2 separate regions of the Homo sapiens genome follow, and region 1 is linked to region 2. The links are contacts of gene promoters, found by promoter capture Hi-C in human tissues and cell types (Jung and others, 2019). All regions are on one chromosome and are shown on one strand. The core of a region is centred on a gene start or on the middle of the fragment in contact, and the rest is flanking DNA. Distances in the headings are between cores, read along the strand shown.

What was found. The method cuts DNA at HindIII sites, captures the fragments that hold promoters and counts their contacts. A contact is called where the count stands out against the background at its distance.
Region 1: a contact is called between a fragment that was not itself captured here and the fragment with the promoter of RAB39A in region 2, in 1 of the 25 tissues and cell types used here (spleen).

The regions. Positions count from the first base shown.
Region 1 is chr11:107,623,788-107,627,144 of GRCh38, forward strand. The region is part of intron 2 of ELMOD1 (ELMO domain containing 1); the gene reads left to right. Among named protein-coding and RNA genes, the nearest start is that of ELMOD1, 34 kb to the left of the region's middle. The HindIII fragment of the contact is 3,491 bases long and covers 1-3,289 here.
Region 2 is chr11:107,926,991-107,930,178 of GRCh38, forward strand. RAB39A (RAB39A, member RAS oncogene family) reads left to right here and starts at 1,458. Exons shown (of 2, transcript NM_017516.3): 1 at 1,458-1,805. The coding sequence starts at 1,579. RefSeq lists silencers at 1,194-1,683, 1,714-1,933. The HindIII fragment of the contact is 22,665 bases long and covers 1-3,188 here.

The sequences.
Region 1 (3,357 bases), core at 294-2,793, 300 kb before region 2:
AATAAGTTCTTGACTCATGTTCACTTTTTCCACTGCCATATCTCCCACTCTCATTTCTTCTGTACTGCACGGTCAGTCTTATTTTGTATTTGGCTCTATGAAGGAATAAATAAAATAAATTGAAATACCTTTCAATTGTCATTTTTCATTTCCCCCCAACTTATTTCAAATCTCTTTCTTTCAGCTGCTCTAGGTCTTTAACAAAAATTAATTTGTTCACAATACTGAGCATGTCCTCTAACTAGGTTGTTTAAATTTTTTTTGAATTATATTATGTAGCAAATTTATAATAATAACAGGCCTATTTCTTATCCCCTATAGAATATTTTGAACCCTATAATTGATGATGGAGCATGAATAATACCTTTGATGACTTTATTTATATGTTTACTTAATTTGGGTTGCCTTAAAAATATTTTTATTTACCAATAAAAGTTTATATTTGAGGTTGCATTTAAATACTTTTAAAATGTCAAAGTATAATGTGTTATAATGTGTTCATTGTTTCTCCTTATAAATAAGTCAATAAAAGTATTATCCAAAGAGTAAAACATAACCTGATTTTAAAAAATAAATCTTGTAGCCAGGCACGGCGGCTCATGCCTATAATCCTAGCACTTTGGGAGGCTGAGGCAGGCAGATTGCTCAAGCCCATGAGTTCAAGACCAGCTTGGGCAACACAGCAAGACCCCATCTTTATAGAAAATACAAAAATTAGCTGAGCATTGTGGCGCGTACCTGTAGTCCCAGCTACAGGGGAGGCTGAGGTAGGAGGACCACCTGAGCCCAGAGAGGTCGAGGCTGCTTCAGCCTAGGCAACAGAGTAAGACCGTGTCTTGACAAATAAATAAATAGAAATAAATCTTATAAAGTGTATTTAATCATCAAAATTTTGGTTGAATAATGTTGTTGTTAGTAAATTAAGAGAAACCTGTACCTCCTTTTCTTTGAAAGGAAAGGGTTACACTATTAATTAATTTATTTTAATTATTACACAATCAACTAGTGCTCTCTAAGCCTTCAGATACAATTTCCCTGGAATATATTATAAAAAGAGTGCCCTTTGCTACAGCAGTATAATTTTGAATAACATTGATCTATGATAGATATATAACCACCAATCCCCTTAATTTTTACTTTTTCGGAAGTTAGTGTGATCTCTTCAGAAAAAGAATAATGTGAAAAAACCACAGGGCCCCACACTATCTGGGCGTGGGATCTTGGAACCTCTCCCCTGCTCTACAGGAAGGAAATACTCTTGTTTTCCTAGAGACCCACGGATGGTTTCTTTGTGTGATTTCACATTTCCAGTTCATGTACCAAGTCCTCTGCAGCCTCTCTTCCTAGTAGAGAGCTCTTATACGGATGGTCCCATTTACTAGGCAAAGTACCTATTGATAAGTTAATTCCCAACCGATTGTCAGTGCCCCTACTTAGGAACTTCAGTGGAGCAACTAAATGATCTGTCGGGGACATTGAGCCGCTTGCTCTTCTTTATGACATTTAGATGAAAAGTATTTCATTTGGGAAACTGTGGTTTGAACCAAGAACTGTGATTATTTTTGTACATATCTTTCATCAACAATAGTGTACTTTTTATTTATTACAGGATTTCTTCAAGCAAGAATTAACTTTCATTAGCACATTCATTGAAACTGTTCAAAATAAGCCACTTTTCTCTTACTGTTCCAAAAGAAGACGTCAGAGTCACAAATTTAGGATGATGGCATAGTGTTGCATTACAGGTACCCACACCCCCTCACCCCACAGGCAAGGGGCTACATGGTTTTAGGCGCATTTCCTGTTTTGAAAGCCCCATCCCTCCTGAATGGATTCCTCTAACAAAGCGCCACAAGACCGGAGGTTGCTTTTGTTTGGTAGCAGAGATATGATCCATTTCGAATAATTTACATTGGGTGGCTATTCTGGTTCAAACTAGAGAATGAATGTTAAATAATAAACGTGATCATAATTGCTTTATGGAAGAACACTGCTGTGAACTCAGCCATAAACATCACTCTGCAGCATATTAATAAAAGGCAGTAACAGAAAAGATTGGAAATGGAGCATGTGTAGTAGCTCTTATTATTGAATCAGATTCTCCCAGTGTTTAAGCAAGGCATTCATCTTAGGAAGCTACAGTAACTCTTTCTGGAACACTATCAAAAAGCTGTGATTAAAAAACAGAAATAAACAAAAAAACTGCTGCCTATGCATGTAGTTATTAGAAAGAGGAGGTGGTGATCAGTATTTTCTCCATCTAGTCTTGAGGATTTAATTGTTGTTCCTACAAAATCTAACAGATTATTTTTAGTAGTGAGTCAAGAATCTTCCATCAAAATGAAGAAAACTAAGTCTAGTGTTATGAAGAAGAAAAGCGAATATTGCCCAATTAAAACTAAGCTTATTGGTTTCCTGATTCAGCCTAGGAGGGAAAGGAGCAGAGCCATAAACCCCCTGAGCAGAGGGTTCAGAAGGTGAGGAGGGTGTGAAACAGGAGGTTGAGATTAGTGCTGGTACAAGAGACAGTAAGTGGGTTCTGTCTCACAGGTACATTTGAAATGCCTCCTCCCAAAGCATGCAGTCATGAAAAAAAAAAAAAAAAAGGACATAAAACAAATGAAATTAAAAGGAGGAAAGGGTACAATGAATCCCAAAATCCTTAAACTCAAATAAGAAACAGATACACCTTTTCTTTCTCCCTTCCTTATTCTCTTCCTTCCTCTCTCCCTCTGTTCCTCCCTCCTGTCCCTCCCTTCCCTCCTGTCCCCCACTTCCCCTTCCCCTTCCCTTCCTTCCTTCTTTCCTTCTTATCTTCTTTCCTTCTTTCTTTCTTTCCTTCTTTTCTTTCCCTCTCTCTTTCTTTCTTTTTCTTTCTTTCTTTCTTTCCTAAACAACCACTGATTAGCTCAAGAGCATTTACAGATCTATTTCTTTATTGCTTCCTTTAAAGGGTAAACATGTCAAACCAATATAACATTCTCTCAAAATAGTTAATCATTTTTATTGTTCTGCTTTTGATCCTCAGCAGTTTTTTCCATAAACTTTGTGATTTAGGGACTTAAATAGGTCCAAATTATTTAAGAAGTGAGCTTCTGGCAGTATTTGATGGTGAACAGCCAGCCTGAGTTGCTCACATGGAGGTTTTGAGGAGTTGGTCCTTTTATAAGGAAGCAAGTTGTATATTGTTTCCAAAGTAAGGGATCACCCTGATGTTTCCATCTCTGACCATGACCTGCCTGGACCAGGTTTATAACCTAGACACAAAATAAATTACACCTGTCAAAACATAATTTGATCTGATGATCTGGATTAAAAAAATACAGTAACTAGCATAGCAGGAAAGTATGGTACCTA
Region 2 (3,188 bases), core at 208-2,707:
CTCCCGAGTGGCTGAGATTACAGGCATGCACCACTACGCCCGGCTAATTTTGTATTTTTAGTAGAGACGGGGTTTCTCCATGTTGAGGCTGGTCTCGAACTCCTGACTCAGGTGATCCACCCGCCTCAGCCTCCCAAAGTGCTGGGATTACAGGCGTGAGCCACCGCGCCCGGCCTAACACACACTTTTAAACTGTTTCACTTTTTAAAGATAAACCTTGACGTCACTATTACTCAATTTGAGGAAAGGCACAAGAAAGTAGTAAGATCTCACCAGAATTTAAGTTCTGCTTTGTTTACTTACATCATTAATCAGACATGAGCTAAGAGACCACCTGTTCGCTTTTTTCTGACTTAAACAATGGAGACCAAGGAGAGCTGAAAATTTCATGAGCTTCTCAACATTTCCCCGGCTTTTTTTTTTTTTTTTTTTTTTGCCACTGTCCCCAGGGTTGGAGGGCCCCAGAGGGTATGGGGATGATACTTGGCGTTTCTCACTCTTCTGTGGTACTCATAGCAGTGAAGAACAGACAGTGGCAGCACGCAGCAACAGCCAGAGCCCTTGCTAGAAGCACCCAGAACTGGCTGTGCAAATTTATTTCAATCCTGCCCAAAACTCCTTCACCTTAAAATGCCTTGGAGGTGGCTCTCATCAAGACAAGAAAGCAGGGTGTGGTGGCTCACACCTGTAATCCCAGCACTGGGAGGCTGAGCCTGGAGGATCACTTGAGGTCAGGAGTTCGAGACCAGCCTGGGCAACACAGCAAGACCCCATCTCTACAAAAAGTTAGAAAATTAGCGGGATGTGGTGGCCCCCGCCTGTAGTCCCAGCTACTCAGGAGGCTGAGGTGGATGGATCGCTTGAACCTAGGAGTTTGAGACCAGCCTAAGCAACATAGCGAGACCACATCTCTAAAAAAAAAATTTTTTTTTAACCCAGAAGAAAATTAGCCAGGTGTGATGGCTCACACCCGTGGTCCCCGCTGCTTGGGAGGCTGAGGTGGGCAGATCGCTTGAGGCTGCAATGAGCCGAGATCTCACCACATCAATCCAGCCTGGGGGACAAAAAAAAAAGAGGAATCAAAGCAATGACCCAAGTTATGGCCTCAGGGACTTCCAAAATCAGAGCCCTAATCTGACCAACCCGCCCTGACGCCTGTAAGAAAACGACTCTCACTTTTCATTGGCTGACCCTCCCGGAGTTGAGACCTTGCTTCATTTTCCTTGGTTGTTGCTGCTGTCACGTCTTCCCGCCACGCCCACTTTCCTGCCGGCGCCCAGTGAGCGTTGAGGGAGAGTGATTTGCAGCCGGTCAGGGGCGGGAGTTCGCGGCAGCAAACCTGCTTCCCCCTCCCACGCGCCACCGCCCCCGCCCCGCCCCCGTCCAGAGGCCCCGCCCCTAGCCGGGCCTGGCCCCGCCTCTCTCTCCCGAGAGGGCGGGCACCAGGCGGCGGCCGCAGCCGCAGGAATATGCTGGAAGGCGGCGGGCGGGCGCCCGCGAGGTGCTGAAAGGACAGTTCCCGCCGCCGAACTTAGCCCGCGGGTGGGGCGGCCCGGGAGCCAGCGGGGCACGTGAGCGATGGAGACCATCTGGATCTACCAGTTCCGCCTCATCGTGATCGGGGACTCCACCGTGGGCAAGTCCTGCCTCCTGCACCGCTTCACCCAGGGCCGCTTCCCCGGGCTGCGCTCCCCCGCCTGCGACCCCACCGTCGGCGTGGACTTCTTCTCCCGCCTGCTGGAGATCGAGCCGGGCAAGAGGATCAAGCTACAGCTCTGGGACACGGCGGGACAGGAGCGGTTCAGGTAGGGACCCCGGGGACCTTGGGCACCGCGCCGCCCCCTCAGCCCGCCCGGACGCCCCTTCCCCAGGCGTCCGCCCCGCCGGCCCTGGTCGGGAGAGGCTCTGGCCCTTCCCTCTCGAAAGTGCAAACACTCCATTCTCGCTTCCCCTTTGCCCCTCCTCTTCCAGGGACGACTTCCTCCTCCGCAATTTCTCACTTCTTTCTTTGGCGCCCATTTCCTGCGCCCCCTTTCCATCTTTCCTTTCCCGCCTGAACCGGGGTCGTCCTCGCCGCCCCCTCTTCCCCAACTCTTTCAGCCCCTGTGGGTATTTTTATCCCCTCCGGCTCCCCGGCTGCCTTCTTCCCAAACTCGGCTTCCCTGGCTGCGCACAGCATGACCCGACCACCCTCCTCCAAGCAGGCGCCCCTTTTCCTACCCTAACCCAGCGGCTCCCACGCTGTGTGGCCGGGGAGAACCGCGAGGGAGGGTTCCCAGATTCGTGATGGATCCTTTAGCTTCACAGCAAGGAGCGCTCCAACCCAGGTTCCTGCATGAGCTCACTGGGCATGGTTCACAGAGAGGTGGATGCGGTAATGGTTTGGGCACCTCACAGCACTGAATGTGGTCATCAGAAATACTGGGTCATGACCCGTGGGAATGGGTCTTGTAGGTTAACTAGATGCAACATCAGGGACACTGGCACAGCTGAGGGTGTGTGTGTGTGTGTGTGTGTATGTGAAGGGTTGAGTTGTCTTTAGAAGTTTGTCATGTTTGGTGGGAAAAAGACATATATTGAGATTCGCCAGGAACTTTAATTTTGCTTATGATCAGTACTTAACGTTCCAGGGTGATAATATTTCTAAAGACAGAAGGAGGGATCCAAATGAATAGTCTCCTCCTAAATATCCGCTGGGGACATGAAGGGTTTCACAAAGGCGACTTGTGTAAATAAAAAGTAAATGAAATTATATGCATTTCCTGAATATTTGAGATGGAAGCAGGTTTAAAGCAAATTTTAAATGTCTAGGATTCAAAGGCACTTCGTTTTAGAGGAAGATGGTGAAACTGATGTATTGTACTGTTCTGTTTCTTAAAGACTGCATTATCCATTGGAACTCATTTAAGGAAGCATTTTGCGTTAGTCAGCAAGTACTCTGCTTGTGAAATGCAGTGTTCCATGAGGGGACTTCCCAAACATGGCTTCCCCTCGCCCCCAGCCAGCATCACTGCGAATGAGATCAGCCTACATCTGTGAGAATGGTCCAACATTCAAAGTTTTGGCTTCCGTTCCTAGCAATGATGCTGATTCATAGAGATAATGAGTGAACTGCTTAGCTTGCTTATACCTTAGTTTTCGTGTGTGTGAAGTGGAAAGATGGTAAGGCCAGCGCTTCAGAGAGGTGT